Linked DNA regions of Homo sapiens: all the other regions are linked to region 3. The links are contacts of gene promoters, found by promoter capture Hi-C in blood cells and fetal thymus (Javierre and others, 2016). All regions are on one chromosome and are shown on one strand. The core of a region is centred on a gene start or on the middle of the fragment in contact, and the rest is flanking DNA. Distances in the headings are between cores, read along the strand shown. Region 1 has its middle 67 kb from the start of CD8B2. Region 2 has its middle 44 kb from the start of CD8B2. Region 3 holds the start of TGFBRAP1 (transforming growth factor beta receptor associated protein 1). Region 4 has its middle 93 kb from the start of CD8B2. Region 5 has its middle 110 kb from the start of CD8B2.

Region 1 (3,182 bases), core at 10-2,509, 1.2 Mb before region 3:
ATCTAATTGTATGGTGGAAACACAGAAAACAATACAAGCTAGCAAAAATGAATGGATTCTCTCTTATGCAATTGGTAGCATTCGTTTACAATGCTCATCTTAATGTCTTATTCATAAGTTATGATATGATATAAATGGCTAATAATAGCAAAAGCAAGTAAATAAAATTCTACTTCTGTGTTGTCTGTTGGGAAAAAAAATTACTCTTAAAGCAGTCTTTCTGAAAAATTTCCCTAAGTCTGTGTTTCCAAATTCAGTGTCAGCAAAGGTATTTAACTCTTAGAGTGGGCAAAAAGGAGCTCATCCAGAAATAAAATTTTGATCATCCCAAATGGAGGGAGACAGAAGAGAAAAAGAATGCGAGTTAATGGATGAAGGGCAAAGCACTGCGTCTGAAATATGAGAGGTGTGGGAACACAGCATGTGGAAGCCATATCTCCATTTGTGTGTCCATCGTGTGGCACCGAGCTCTCAGGGCATCTGCATGCCTGTTCTCCAAATGAGTTCCTTCAGACCTAAGGGGAAGAAGTCCCATCTCATCAAACACACATTCACTGCTCATTATCTGCAGCAGATTACGATAGTGACCCAGATTCCAAAAACGTACTTTTTTCCGTGTTGCTCCCAGAAGTTCTTCCTAACCTGTCTCCTTGGTCTATTTTGCAAGTCAGAGTTGGAGGGCATAGAGAGGGATGCAAGGTGGGGAGTGAGAAAGCAGGCGAAAGGATAGAGGTAGGGAAGAGCCAAGGATGTGTCCTAAGGGACAGCATCTGAACCAGCAGAGGCACTCTCCTGCAGCATGTGTGAGCCTTGTCCAAGAACACCTGCAAAGCCAAGACTACCTGTTTAGAGGGCTCCAAAGTGAAAACCTGTCCACCACCTCCAGAAACCCAGCCATGGCCTGTTACAGTGGGAATTTGCCTGGCTAGCAATAAAGAGGCAATTCAGGCCTGCTAGGAGAAACAAGTGTTCCCACTCCATGTCTTCTTACAGGCAGACACACCCCAGAGAGCACTGGTTAGAAGGCTTGGTCCCTCTCCTAGCTGAGCCATGGGCTCCAGGCCAGACTCTGGCTCTTGCTCTGTTATAGAGTAAACCTCTTTGCTTCAGTTTCTCCATCTGTAAAACGAGGACATCTGACTAACCAACTACTTTCAAGATACCTTCTGGTTCTGGAGGTCTATGATTCTATAAGCACCACCAAACACATGCATGCTTCAAAGTCTTTATCATCAAATTAATGAAAACAGCTCCAAGTTCGACTGCAACTCATGCTAGTGATATGACTACTGCTTAGTCTCTCTGAGCTTCAGGTGCCTCATCTATAAAATGGGAACACTAATATCCACACTTGCAGAGTTTTGTGAAAATCAAATCAAGTAAGATTTAAATATCTAGTACAGCACCTGCTACATAGTAGGAATCCACACCTTCCCTTTGTAGTATAGTAATGTGCCACGTAACAATGAACTGCATATAGGACCATGGTCAAATAAGATTATAATGTCATATTTTTACTGTACCTTTTCTAGGCTTAGTTAGGTTTAAATACACAAATTCTTACCATTGTGTTATAATTGCCTATAGTACTCAGTACGGTCACATGCTGTAAACGTTTGTGCCTCGGAGCAATAGGACAGAGTACAGCCTGTACAGCTGAGGTGTGTAGTAGACAATACCATCTAGGTCTTTGTAAGTTCACTCTGTGATGTCCACAGAATGACAAAATTGCATTTCTGAGAATGTATCCACGTCATTAGTCAGTGCATGACTGTAAATGATTCCAGTGGTGATCGTTTACTGTCACACCAGGGTTCCTCAGCACTATTGACACTGGGGGCTGGAGAGCCCTCCGTTGTAGGGCTGTCTTGTGCCCTGTAGGATGTTCAGCAATTTCCCTGGTCTCTGCTCATTAAATGTCAGTAGGACACTCTCCCCGCATACAGTTGTGAACACTGAAAATATCTCCAGCCATTTTCCCCAGAAGGACAAAATTGCCCCCTTTGAGAACCACTGACTTATGCAGATCCCAATTGCACAAAAGAATGGGGGAAAGACACCTTGCATAAGATCATTCCTGCAGTGAGAGCCAGAGCTCAGGTGAGAACCCATCTCTTCAGAGCTCTGGTCCAGGTGTGACTGCCACTACCTCTTGGGATTTCTGGCCTCAGAGGGCAAGAAAGCAAGGGAAGGAAGAATGGAGCTAATACATTGTGCATCTTCTGTGTTCCAGAAACCATTATGGATGCCAGTTGAATAATCGTACCAACCAACTGGCAACCCAAATTCTTACCTTAAAGCAGGGGTATCCAATCTTTTGGCTTCCTTTGGCCACACTGGAAGAAGAAGAATTGTCTTGGGCCGCACGTAAAATACACTAACACTAATGATAGCTGATGAGCTTAAAAATGTCGCAAAAAACTCTCGTAATGCTTTAAGAAAAATTACGAGTTTGTGTTGGGCTGCATTCAAAGCCATCCTGGGCCAAACGGTCACGGGTTGGACAAATTTGCCTTAAGGGTATACTGAATTGATAATGGGAACAGTTTTTCAAAGCCCGAGAGAGAACAGAAAAGGTGCTTGAGTCTTGCAAGCTTTTGAGTTGGCTCTACATAAAAAGATAAATAGAATCCAGTCTTTCACCTAATAAGACTATAGTTAGATTCGTTCTTGCTATAGTTATAGTCCGGCTCAGTGGCACGATTCAGATGATTGATGCGTCTGCCCAGCAAGTGTTCATTCCCTTGCTTCCCCATGTTATTTCTGCAACAGATTGAATTCGTTAGACTAGATTGGACTGAAATTCCACTTTTTCATTTGTTTCTCTTCAAAGGTATCGTCACAGATAAATGGCTCTGGCATTAATCTTCCTAGAAAAAGAAAGTCACAGCATAAACCAGCCCATGCTGATGGCAGCCAACTTGGAAAATGTTTAACCCTTTAGAAGAAAAAATAAAGAAGCACAGCCGTTCATGCTACCCTGAGATTCTGCCTAGGATGTCATGCTTCATCAAGACAGTTCAGCTTCCCAAGTCGTAGATAAAAGACATTCCATGAATTTAGGATGCTCTTTGTCACCCCTGGTGTTAAAGGGAGTCACCAGGTCACAGGAGCAATGTGAGCATGAAACGGGAGGAGGAAAAGACATGACAACAGCTGGGAAGAGGATGTGAAACAGGCCC
Region 2 (2,940 bases), core at 268-2,767, 1.2 Mb before region 3:
ACCCCTTGTTTAGCATATAATCAAGAAATAACCATAAAAATGGGCAACTGGCAGCCCTTGGGGCTACTCTGCCTATGGAGCAGCCATTCTTTTATTCCATTACTTTCTTAATAAGCTTGCTTTCACTTTACTATATGGACTCGCCCCAAATTCTTTCTTGAGCAAGATCCAAAAGTCCTCTCTTGGGGTCTGGATCCGGACTCCTTTCCAGTAACACCAATATCTGTATTTGCTAGGATTCTAGCTCGCTTTAATAGAAAAAAAAATGTGTAAAGAGAATACCTTGAAGTTTACAGAACTGGACAATTGGCTTCCAAAAAATCAGGAACCAGAGCTCCAAAGCCTATCAAGGTCATGGCCATTGAATCCTCCCCTCCAACAACCAGTCGTAATGGGATTCTACTAAAGATTCAAAGGAGATACAGAAATGTGCTTTTTACACATACAAACTCCGGGAAATATTTGTGGAAGTGGATTTTGACAGGGCTCAGCTAACTGTGCTGGAACAAAATGTTAGACTGAGCTGAATCTGTGCTATGGTTGCATTTATCAAGAGGGCGGTTGGGTGTGCAATATGCACAGCTGGCTGGAGATCTGTTACTTTGCTGGGATGGCGGATGCAGACCTAGGCTGAAAGCTGGCCTGCGGCAAATGACTTCAAAAGGCCATGCATTCCTTGCTATAACGAAAATGAGGGAAATCAAAGGCCTGGGGAGACTGGAATGCTGGGCTGGATGTAGCTTGTTTGTTCTACCCACACACACACTCTGCTCCCCAGAGAGGTTCCCTTCATGTAGACCTTGAGGAAAAGGTTGGGGAAGAAAGTGCAGGACACTTTAAAGAATCTGTGCTGGCTGTTCTCACTGGACTGGAATGCCCATGGGAGAGGCTTCAGGATCGCACTGAAGAGAAGAGCCAGGGTGCAGCAGTGACCATCAGAGGGAAAGTAGCTGGGGCAATCTAATAGTGAATCCCATACATTTCCCACCCCATGACCTAACCAGGCTTGAGAGGCTCACATGGCCCTAGGGACTCAGCCTGCAGGACATCATCCTGGCCCCCTGCAGGGGCAGCATCCTGGCTAGGACCCTTAGAGCAAGAAATAGTAGGTTCCAGGACATCTTGGATAGAACTCGAGAACTCGTGTGATAGAGGACAGAAAATAAGTGCAACAAAAATAGAGGCACCTGCCCGTTTCAGCGTCTGATGTTTCAGAATTTGGGGCAATTGGATTATTGCCCAAAGGAAAAGGAAAAGCAAGTGGTGTACCTAGTTCCCACTACCACTAAAAAGGGGACCCAACACTGAGAGTATCTCTTCAGATTTGGGGGACGGTATCTACTATGTCTGAGTGTCATGAGCTAAATCACTTTCTGGATGACTCCCAAAACCTAGTCTGAAGAGCAGAGCAAATTCTGCTACTTGATCCTTTAGATGTTGTTACAGGAAAGGGGTCCTGATTCAGACCTCAAGAGAGGGTTTTTGGATTTCACGAAAGAAATAATTTAGGGTGAGTCAGTAGGGTAAAGTGAAAGCAAGTTTATTAAGGAAGTAAAGGAATAAACAATGGTTACTCCATAGACAGTGCAGCCCCGAGGGCTACTGGTTTCCTATTTTTATAGTTATTTCTTGATTATATGCTAAACAAGGGGTAGATTATTCATGCCTCCCCTTTTTAGCCCATCTAGGGTACCTTCCTGACATTGCCATGGCATTTGTAAACTGTCAAGGAGCTGGTGGGAGTGTGGCAATGAGGATGACCAGAGGTCACTCTCACCGCCTTCTTGGGTTTCGTGAGATTTAGCTGTTTCTTCACTGCAACCTGTTTTATCAGCAAGGTCTTTATGACCTGTGTCTTGTGCCAACCTCCCATCTCATCCTGTGACTTAGATGCCTTAACCATCTGGGAATGCAGCCTAGCAGGTCTCAGCCCCATCTTACCTAGCCCCTATTCAAGCACTTTGGGAGGCCGAGCTGGGTGGATCACGAGGTCAGGAGATCAAGACCATCCTGGCTAACAGGGTGAAACCCCATCTCTACTAAAAATACAAAAAAATTAGCCTGGCGTGGTAGCGGGCGCCTGTAGTCCCAGCTACTCAGGAGGCTGAGGCGGGAGAATGGCGTGAACCCGGGAGGCGGAGCTTGCAGTGAGCCGAGATCGCGCCACTGCAGTCCAGCCTGGGCGACAGCGAGACTCCATCTCCAAAACAAAAAAGCTGGAGTTGCTCCTGGTTCACACGCTTCTCACAATGTTAGGCAAAACCTCCCTCCCTGTTCCTCAAAATTTAAGTTAAATTGGCTAAAGTAGCTCATTGTCAAGGCCTATGGAATTTCAAAGCCCTCCTTCGATTTCTGGGACTGTTCAAGGTTTGCGCCCTCAAGATCTCCTCTAGTTCTGGGATCCGTCCTTCACAGGAGTGCCACTTAGTTACAATACTGAAATGTGCACTTTATACAATAGGAAGGGACTGAACTTCAGGTAACTGCTGCAGTCCTCATACCGGCAGCAGAGCCATGCTGGCATCCACTACCTTCTGTTCCTACAACCCATTCCAGTTGTGTTCACTTTCTCAGCGGGTGAAACTTCTCCATCAGGTGGGATGACCTGATCCTTCATTCTCAAGGGTATGAGTACTTCGTAGTCCCACTTATGTGGTTTTGCTATGGTTTTTCACTAACTTTGACTGCTACACCTGCAGTACTGGAAAGCACACTGAGGATCCTTGAGTTCCAGGAAACCTCATCGCTGCTTGCCCTGTGTGATGGCAAAGACAGAGCTCCCTCAGTGATCAGGATCACCCACCCCAGCCAGTGTGGGAATCTTCTTTTGAGCCTGTTCACCTGTGATGCATGGAGCTAGGTGTCAGTCCCAACTTCCAGTTCAAAGGCACCACTGACATGTCCCTTGTGGCAAGCTTGGTATCCAGTGTCAGCCAGAAG
Region 3 (3,329 bases), core at 92-2,591:
GACAAGTCACATAGTCTCTGTGAGCCTGGGTAAAATGAAGAGACTGGATTTGCTCTTGTACCTTCCCAATCCCTGGCTCCACTAGCTGTTGGCCACCTTAGACTTGAAGGTCCATTCACTGCTGCTTGCCCTTGAAGCTCAATTGCTGGTCAGAGCTTTACACTCCTGGGAAGCCAGTCCCCTACCTGGAGGCTGAGCCGGTGACACTGGTTCCACTGGGTCACAGCTGAAGCACCACTGGGGATGGGGCATTTATGTGGCCATGAGTCACACTAGGGTAGGGGTAGAGGGCAAGTCACAGGAAGATTGTTGGGTTTTTTTTTTTTTTTTTTTTTTTTGGCCAGTTTCTTTTCTTTCTTTTTTTATCCCTTTGAAACAGAAGACCATGGCGTACAATCTGGTATCTGCCTTCAGGGTTGGGATAATATCTTTGTTTTACAATACTCAGAGTGGCTGGAAGAAAGCTGAGGCCACAGGTCACTAGCAGGTTCTAAAGTCTGAAAATCCCTGGGAAAATTTGACTTTTTATATGCTAATAATTGAGTACTGACAACTCTGGAGGGAGCTTTCCAATTCTTCCGTCATGAAAGTGGACTTTGTATACTAAAGAGGGGTTCATGGATTCATGGTAACCTACAATTCTTCCTTGCGGCCTGAACCAAAGGAATAGCAGCTACAGTTGGGTTTTCCTAAAAGGAGTAAGATAGTCCCAGGCCTCCCTTCTCAAATAAGTGTATCAAGCAGGTGGACTCTGCCAGTCGGGGGTCCCGGTCAATCCCTAGGGCCCTGGGGCGCCATGGGCCTCGTGGGAGGGCTGCGCATCCCAACCATGCCTTCGTCTCCTGGTGGGGCACCGGCGGTACGTCCGATCCTCCAGCCCGCGTGGTCAGGCGGCCGCGGGCCCAAGCATTTCCCAGGGCCCAAGCATTTCATTCATTTATTCATTCACGCAGCAGGTATTTCCCGGGCGCCCTCCTCCTGTGTAGGTGACAGAAACTGGGTGGCGAGCGAGCCAGGCAAAGCCCGGCTTCCCTGAAGCTCCCCGCAGCGGCGGGGGCGGAGAAGAGACCTCAGCCCCGCGGGCTCGCACAGCTGGCGCGGACCACGCTCTCGCCCGGGGCCGGCGGCCTCAGCGCCCCCCGAATGAACACCTTCCGCCCGCTGGCCGCCCCGCGAGGCGGGCCGTGTCGTGGCCCCGGTGCACGGAGGGGGACGCCGAGGCCCGGAGCAGGGCCCGTCTCGGCCTGTGCTCGGAGCCAGGCGGCAGGGCCCGCGGGCCGGCGGGCGGCGCGGAGACGGCTGCGCTCCCGCCCTCCGCCAGCGCCTGGCGGCCGCCCCACGTGACGGGAAGCGGCGGCTGCGGGGTCGGGCCAGCCCAGGAGCCGCGGGCCGGAGCGGGGCGGCGGGGCCCCAGGCCGCGGGGCGGCGCGGGACGGCGGGCGCCGGCGCCGGTGAGTGAGGAGGGCGGCGGGGCGCGGGGTGCGGGGCTCAGGGCGCGGGGCGCGTGGGGCAGGAGGGCGGGGAGCAGGAGTGGGGGGTAGGCGGCGGGGCGGGGTGGAGGGCGAGCCCGTGCGTGTGCGCTGGGGCAGGTGTAGTGGGGGCTGGAACGCGGGGTGGGGGGAGCAAGTGGCTATACACTTGGGGGCAGGTGTGCGGGTGTGCGACTTGGTAGCTGTCCCTTGTGGGGGCCGGCTAGCCTGCTGGGGTGAGCAAATAAGTGTTCACGTGTGTGTGGGATGAAGTGTGCACGGGTGTGGGGTCAAGTGTGTATGTTGTGTGTGAGGAGTGCGTGTGTGTTTAGGGCAAGGGAAGACCTGAGAGACCTCGTCCTTGATTTGGGTTTTCCGGGGAGAAGGGCCAGGAAGGACTTGCACCTCCATCCCTGGTATGGAATGGTTTTGGCGCTGTGATTGAGGTTTCTGGGAGCTCTTTGGATTTGAGAGCTCAAATTCGGGTCACACTCAGGCCTGAATTGTCCTGATCTGGAGAGTAGGCAGGGGTGTGTTGGGGAGTAGGGAAAAGTGCTGTGCTGGGCTTCCTGGCCCCTGTTTTTAGCACCAGGTCAAGGGCTGGAAGCTGTCATCCCTGTGGAATTGTTTTCTTTCCATTGCCTTCTGGAGGTGCAGGTGCAAGTTAGTCCGCCTGCCTCCCTGTGTTAAGTGTTGATATCCTTAAACACGGAAGCTGTCCGGTTGTCTGCACCTGCCGTGGCTTCTACCCAAGGACTGTTGAGTGACCCTCAGGAAGCCTCCTACCTGGCTGCTAAAAATGGGGGCTCACAGATCACACAGCAGGCCTTACTGCACGTGGACTGCACGCGCAGCTGTGGTCAAAACATGTCTGAGCAGAGTTTAATCACTGATGAAGTGCTCATGGGCAAGCACCTTGTCTATCAGGAAGGAAGGCAGCTGCGGGTGTGATTGTGGTGGCAAGTTAAGGCACTGAGAAGGTGTGCAGGGAAGATCCTACTGCGTTGTGTGTGTTGGCTTGGTTGGAGTCAGGATGAACGAATGTAGAGGGACTGTGTGGTGGCTGCTACTCTCTCATGGTGGACATGCTTCTCTCTGTTGGTCAGCCGGAAGCTGGCAGACAACTGAGAGCTCGCAGTTCCATGGTCAGTCAGAAGGAACATTTGGTCAGCTGCTTCCTTTTCTTTTTCCTTCCATTTCTGCCAGCCGAGCAGCCTCAACAGTCATTGCAGCTGCTTCTGTGATGTGTAGCAAAACGCTGCCTGGAGTACTAGAAAGTCTACTGGCTGGAATCTGCTGGAACCTGTCCATAACTAGCCTGCCCCAGGTCATCTATGAAATGGGAGTGATGCTCTGTGGTGGTAATGAATGTGGAGTGTGGGTTCAAATCCTGCCTCTGCCATTTCCTGTGACCTTTGGGCAATTTGCTGGACATTCTGAGTCTCAAATTCCTCCATCAAAATAGGGATAATATTAGAAAAGGCACATGAATTCTAATAAGAAATTGTGCCTGGAAAGGATCCGGCACAGGGTCTGGCATTTAGTAGGTGCTCAATAAATTATTGCTGACAAATATAAATGAGGATGTAGAGCCAGGTCTCCCTCAGCTCTGAAAATATGTAGTTTTATGTTTTGAGTAATTGTTAACCTAACAAATGATTTACTCTGGAGTTAGACTTGTGGGTTCTGAATTCCAATTTGCTATGTGCATCAAGGTTTGCATTACACAATTGAATTGGGTGAGAGGTGAGGTGCCACTGTTAGCCTTCATTCACTCTGCCTTTTCTTCTACACTCATGATTGTGCATGGCAGTCCTCTTGTCATAGCATTGGAGGCAGAGCGTTTTCACCACTGCAGGA
Region 4 (2,894 bases), core at 178-2,677, 1.3 Mb before region 3:
AAGGAATGCTTCTAAGCAGTTTTCGTGCAGGGTTGTGAAAATGAAGCGTCTATAGAGGAAAAGGACATGTTTCACAGGCTCAAGGATTTGAGTTTAAGCTTCAATAAAGATGAGAAACAGAGTAGGAATTTCCCTAGCAGTTCTTTGTACGGAAATTAGCGTGAAGATCTGAAGGGCTTCGGTACTGACAGCAACTTCCAAACTGCTTCAAGCCGCTCACCATCAAAATGAGGTGAATATCCAAAACATTTCCTCCCTAGAGAGAACTTCTGACAAGATCAGGGAAATGTAAGTTTAGCGACTAAACCAGGACGCGGTGGGCAGGCTCACGGCAGCACCCTCCACTCAGTGTGGCTTCCTTCCTGCCCCTGTCATCACCTGTGAGGTGTGGGCCTTGCAGCGAGATTGGGGTATTCACCCAGTTTTCTTCCTTGAGTCTAAGTGAGGATTGCTTGGTAGACATTAGAATCCACAAGCATAAAAGGTAACGTTGCAGGGGCTGAGGAAGCCACTGCCATCCGGGGAGCCACAGGACATGGAAGCTGAGGGACAGACGGCAGAGCCCTCAGAGGAGCTGAGCTAAAGAGCTTCTAGCAAAACTGCAGTTGCTTGGGGGGACTCGGCACTAAGATTACGACAATTTAGCATTAAGTATAACCCGGATAGGAGTAATTAAGCTTAATATTGCAGAAACAGTATTTTAAAGAAAAAAGATGGACGTATGGCCCAACGAAGAATTTTTTCTGATTTGTGGATTTATGAGTGAAAGTCTTTCAACAAGGGGAAAAGAAGGGGACGGGAGGGGAGGGGAGGGGAGGAGAGGGATATAAGGCATGCTCATGAGTGGTTTCCTCTGTAGGCAGCTGGGGCCCCAACCGGCTGGGTCTCCTGGACAGTGTGGACACACCCCAGGGCTGCCTCTCCTGAAGGCAAGGATGCTGGGCACACCGGCTCTTGTTACCTGCTTTAGTGGCTGCTCCTGGTGGTGTCAACTGCCCTGCACTTCTGGCATGTTACAAGCATGAAACAGAGCAAACAAAACCCTTGGTGGGGAACCTCAGATGCCTGGAGTATAGACCTTCAGAGGGTTCTGGAAGGGCCACTCCCGAAAGCCTCTGAGCAGCAGCATCCACTATGCACCTGTGTAAGAGAGCAGGCTGCCTGGTTATTATGGGGTGCCACAATCTCCCCAGCTACCAACATACGAGATGATCCTAGAGATAACCAGAGGCACCATGGACTGGCTGGTTCACCGTTGTACAATGGATTGATTTGGCTGCATTTAAAGCTGGCCCCAGTCCGAGGAAAAAGACAGACGCCTGGCTGGCCTCTGCTGTCACCTTCAGAGCAGGGTTGTTCTGTTTTTCTAACAGCTGGTTGGATTCATCTAGATAATTTCCACTCTGCCTTTTTGTCAGCAGATCTCTTTAGCTGCGGTTTTGACCCTAGGTCGCCAGACCACTCACCAAGATGAAAAGTGGTAGTGTATTTTTCTGTCAGCCAGCCCAGAGGCTGCCAGCAGTGCCCCTCGGCCAAGGGCTTTGACCTTGGACGTTAGCGAGCAATGACCCACAGGGCAGCAAGCAAGGGGAAGTGTTGCTCTCTTGCTTCCTTCTTATTTCTCATGCTGTCTGGGAGTTTTCATAAATTTGAGCTAGCTTGAAATCATGTACATCGTGTTTATGTGCAGAAAAAAACCTACACTGTATCGATAACTTAGTTTACAGTTTACACAGATACTTTCACATTCTTTCTTTATCTGAATTCAAATCTGCCCATACACTTGTCTCTCCGTCAAGCCTAATATTTAAAGGTCAATTTACAAACAGCGTGTGTAATCTTATGAATTCTTGCCACATGGTGCCATCTGAGTCCATCTCCCAATCATCTTTGAAAATCTAAGAGAAATTCCAGATTGTTTGACTTTTAGTCTGATAATAGATGATCTCTAAACAGTTTACAACATAGTCATTTTGAGATTGAAAATATCAATCTCATTTTTTTGTTTCACAATGGCTGCTGCCTTAAAAACCAATCCAGTTTGCTGTATTTATTGTCTTATTTGCTATAAATCTAGAGCCAATTATAGCAGTTTCTCATACATTGCCCATAAAAAATGCTATACTATTTCAGCTTTTCAAGTGATGGATACTCTCATAAGAAAATTAGAAAGCTTCCAACAATGGGTCTCATAGATGACTACTACTTTGTCCTCATTTCCAAATGACACAGTCATCTAAGGAATTAAAGGAACTGGAAGTGGAGTGAGTTTTTATGTGCATGATGAAGAATGTTACTTTCAAAGTACAGATGCAACCCAACTTACACAATGGGGTTACATCCCGATAAACCCATGGTTAAGTTGAAACTATCCAAGTCAAAAATGCATTTAACACACCTAACCTATAGAATATCATAGCTTAGCCTAGCCCACCTTAAACATGCTCAGAACACGTACATTAGCCTACAGTGAGGTAACATCATCTGAAATCATAGCACCCTGTACATTATCAGCTATTTGCCCTCATGATCATATAGCTGACTGGGACATCTGGCTCATTGCCCTGCCCACCATTCTGAGTATTGTTCCACATATCCCTAGCCCCAGAAAAGATGGAAATTACAAATTTGAAGTACTATTTTTACTAAATGCATATTGCTTTTGCACCATCATAAAGTCAAAAAAGCCTAAATTGAACCACTGTAACCGTCTGTAGTTGGTAGCTGATTGGCGAGGCAAGACAACAAAGACATATGTCTAAATAAACATGATGTTTTCTGAAGCGTTCCTATCTATCTTTTCAAAATATTTAGCAAAGCATCATATATGCATTAAACACTCTGCTGGATGCTGAGAAAACAAAGAGAAAAAGTCTTGGCTTTTGCTGTCAAAC
Region 5 (2,970 bases), core at 35-2,534, 1.3 Mb before region 3:
TTTTGTAGCTTTAAGATTTAATAAATGCCCTGCTGGGTTTCCAACTTGCATGGGACTTATAGCCCCTTTCTTTAGGTGAATTTCTCCCTTTTGGAACAGGAATGTTTACCCAATGCTGGTACCTGCACTGTCTCTTGGAAGAACATAACTTGTTTCAGTTTTATAGGCTCTTAGTGGGGGAAAAAAAAAAAAATCTCCAGATGAGACTTGGGAATTAGGACTTTCAAATTAAAACTGAAACGAATTAAGACTTTGGGGAACTATTGAGAATGGATGATTATATTTTGCATTGTGAGAAGAACACGAGATTTGGCAGGAGCAGGGTGGAATGATATACTTTGGATGTTTGTCCCCTCCAAATCTCATATTTAAACGTAATCTCCAGTGTTGGAGGTGGGGCCTGGTGGGAGGTGCTTGGGTCACAGGAGTGGATCCCTCATGAATATTTGGTGTGGTCCTTGTGATCACAAGGAATTATCACTCTGAGTTCATGGGAGCACTGGTTATTTAAAACAGTGTGGCACCTCACCTCTCTCTCTCCTCTCTCTCTCTCTCATTCCTACTCTCATTATGTGACCTACCTGCCCCTGCTTCACCTTTCACCATGATGGTAAGCTTCCTTAGGTCCTCACCAGAAGCCAAGATGTTGTCATGCTTGTACATCCTGCAGAACCATTAGCAAATTAAAACTTTTATCTTTATAAATTACCTAGTCTCAGATATAGCTTTATAGTGACATAAAAATGGACTAACACTGATGCCAGTACTTCCCAAATTGATCTACAGACTCAAGGCAATAACTATTAGAGTCCTAGGGAGCTTCTTTATAGAAATTAACAAGCCAGTGTTAAAATTCATGTGGAATTTCATGGGTGGGTCCCAGAATGGCAAAAACACTCTTGCAAAAGAAGAACAAAATAGAACAATGTATACTTCTCAATTCCAAAACTTAGAATAAAGCAACAGTAATCAAGACAGTGTAGTATTAGCATGATAATAGACATGTAGATCAGTGAAATAGAATTCAGAGTCTAGAATAAACCCATACACCTATGGTTAACCGATTTTTGATGAGGGTGCCAAGGCCATTCAATTGGGAAGCAATAGTCTTTTCAACAAATGCACTGAGTCATTTGTATAGCCACCTGCAGAACAAACTTGGAGATTTACTTTATATAATATGCAAAACGTAACTTAAAATGGCTCAAAGACCTAAATGTAAGAGCCAAACCTATAAAACTCTTAAAAGAAAATAGGGAAAAATCTTCATGACATTGAATTTGGCAATAATTTTTTGGATATGACTCTACAAGCACAGGCAACAAAATATAAAATAGATAAATTGGACTTCATCAAAATGGAAAACTTATTACCTGAAAGGATACCATCAAAAAAATAAAAAGACAATTCACAAAATGAGAGAAAATATTTCCAAACCATATATCTGATCAGGGAATTGTATCTGGAGTATATACAGGATTCAAAAGAACAACTCAACAATAAAAATATTATTAAATAATCTAAGATATACTCATATAAATACTTTTAAAAATCTATAATAAAAAGAAAAAAACAGATTTAAAATGGGCAAAGGACCTGGATATACATTTCTTCAAGGAAGATGCACAAATAGCCAATAAGCATATAAAAAGATGTTCAACATCATTAGTCATCATGGAAACGCAAGTCAAAACCACAGTAAGGTATCACTTCAACTAGCACTAGGATGGCTACAATAAAGAAGTCAGATAATTACAAATGTTAGTGAGATTATGGGAAAATTGGAGCCCTCAGCACTGCTAGTGAGAACGTAAAATCGCAAAGTTGCTTTGGAAAACAATCTAGCAGTTTATCAAAAGATTAAGTAAAAAGTCACCATATGACTCAGCAATTTCACTCCCAGTCATATATCCAAAGAAAGAATTAATAGCATATGTCCACACAAAAGCTTGTACATGAATATTTGTAACAATACTACTGAAATAGACAAAAGGTGAAAACAAGCTGTGCCCATCAACAGGCGAACAGATAAACAAAATGTGGTATATCCATACAATGAAATATGATTTGGTCAAAAAAAATAAGTAAACTACTGATGTAGGCTACAATACTTATGAATCTTGAAAATGATATGCTAAGTGAGAGAAGTTGGTTGTAAAAGATGACATACTATATGATTCCATTCATGTAGAAGTCCCAAGTAAGGAGACAAAAAGGAGTTGGTGTTGCTCAGGGCTAAGATGGGGAGTATAGGGTGGTGATAACTAAAGGTCATGGGGTTTCCCTTTGAGGTGATGAAAATGTTTTAAAATTGACTGAGGTGATGGTTGTATATGTCCGCGAATATACTAAAAACCATTAAATTGTATGCTTTACTTGAATTGTATGGTATACAAATTCTATCTCAAGCTGTTAGAAAAGAATAAAAAGAATATTACGAAATCCTATGTCAATAAATTTGACAAATTCCTTGAAAGATAAAAACTATCAAATCTAGCTCAGAAATAACTTGAACACTTACGTATCTTTTAAACAAACTGGCCAGGTGCGGTGGCTCACACCTGTAATCCCAGCACTTTGGGAGGCCAAGGCAGGCAGATCACGAGGTCAGGAGATCAAGACCACCCTGGCTAACACAGTGAAACCCTGTCTCTACTAAAAATACAAAAATTAGCCAGGCATGGTGGTGGGTGCCTGTAGTCCCAGCTACTTGGGAGGCTGAGGCAGGAGAATGGCATGAACCTGGGAGGTGGAGCTGGCAGTAAGCCTAGATTGCGCCACTGCGCTCCAGCCTGGGAGACAGTGCAAGATTCCGTCTCAAAAAATACTAATAATTAAAAAAAAAGAAACTGAATTTATAGTTAAAAACTTTCCAACAAAGTCAACTTTTGGTTCATTTAATGGCTTCATTAAACCTATAGCTGTAATGCAACTCCACTCCATCCCAACAAGCTATTACGTACAAATTGA

What was found. Contacts are between HindIII fragments. The CHiCAGO score rates a contact against its expected background, and 5 or more counts as called.
Region 1: a contact is called between a fragment that was not itself captured here and the fragment with the promoter of TGFBRAP1 in region 3, in 5 of 17 cell types (total CD4 T cells, naive CD8 T cells, non-activated CD4 T cells and 2 more). The highest score is 9.1, in total CD4 T cells.
Region 2: a fragment that was not itself captured here is called in contact with the fragment with the promoter of TGFBRAP1 in region 3 in 4 of 17 cell types (total CD4 T cells, non-activated CD4 T cells, naive B cells and 1 more); the score reaches 7.3 in total CD4 T cells.
Region 4: a contact is called between a fragment that was not itself captured here and the fragment with the promoter of TGFBRAP1 in region 3, in 8 of 17 cell types (activated CD4 T cells, naive CD8 T cells, naive CD4 T cells and 5 more). The highest score is 14.2, in activated CD4 T cells.
Region 5: a contact is called between a fragment that was not itself captured here and the fragment with the promoter of TGFBRAP1 in region 3, in 2 of 17 cell types (naive CD8 T cells and total CD4 T cells). The highest score is 6.8, in naive CD8 T cells.

Annotation. Positions count from the first base shown.
Region 1 is chr2:106,553,104-106,556,285 of GRCh38, reverse strand. No RefSeq gene overlaps it. Among named protein-coding and RNA genes, the nearest start is that of CD8B2, 67 kb to the right of the region's middle. The HindIII fragment of the contact is 2,674 bases long and covers 1-2,596 here.
Region 2 is chr2:106,529,662-106,532,601 of GRCh38, reverse strand. It overlaps a transcript of CD8B2 not described here. Among named protein-coding and RNA genes, the nearest start is that of CD8B2, 44 kb to the right of the region's middle. The HindIII fragment of the contact is 2,800 bases long and covers 118-2,917 here.
Region 3 is chr2:105,327,747-105,331,075 of GRCh38, reverse strand. It overlaps TGFBRAP1 (transforming growth factor beta receptor associated protein 1), which reads left to right and starts at 1,341. Exons shown (of 12, transcript NM_004257.6): 1 at 1,341-1,451. RefSeq lists a silencer at 1,027-1,456. The HindIII fragment of the contact is 18,854 bases long and covers 1-3,329 here.
Region 4 is chr2:106,578,474-106,581,367 of GRCh38, reverse strand. No RefSeq gene overlaps it. Among named protein-coding and RNA genes, the nearest start is that of CD8B2, 93 kb to the right of the region's middle. The HindIII fragment of the contact is 1,496 bases long and covers 680-2,175 here.
Region 5 is chr2:106,598,653-106,601,622 of GRCh38, reverse strand. No RefSeq gene overlaps it. Among named protein-coding and RNA genes, the nearest start is that of CD8B2, 110 kb to the right of the region's middle. The HindIII fragment of the contact is 1,333 bases long and covers 618-1,950 here.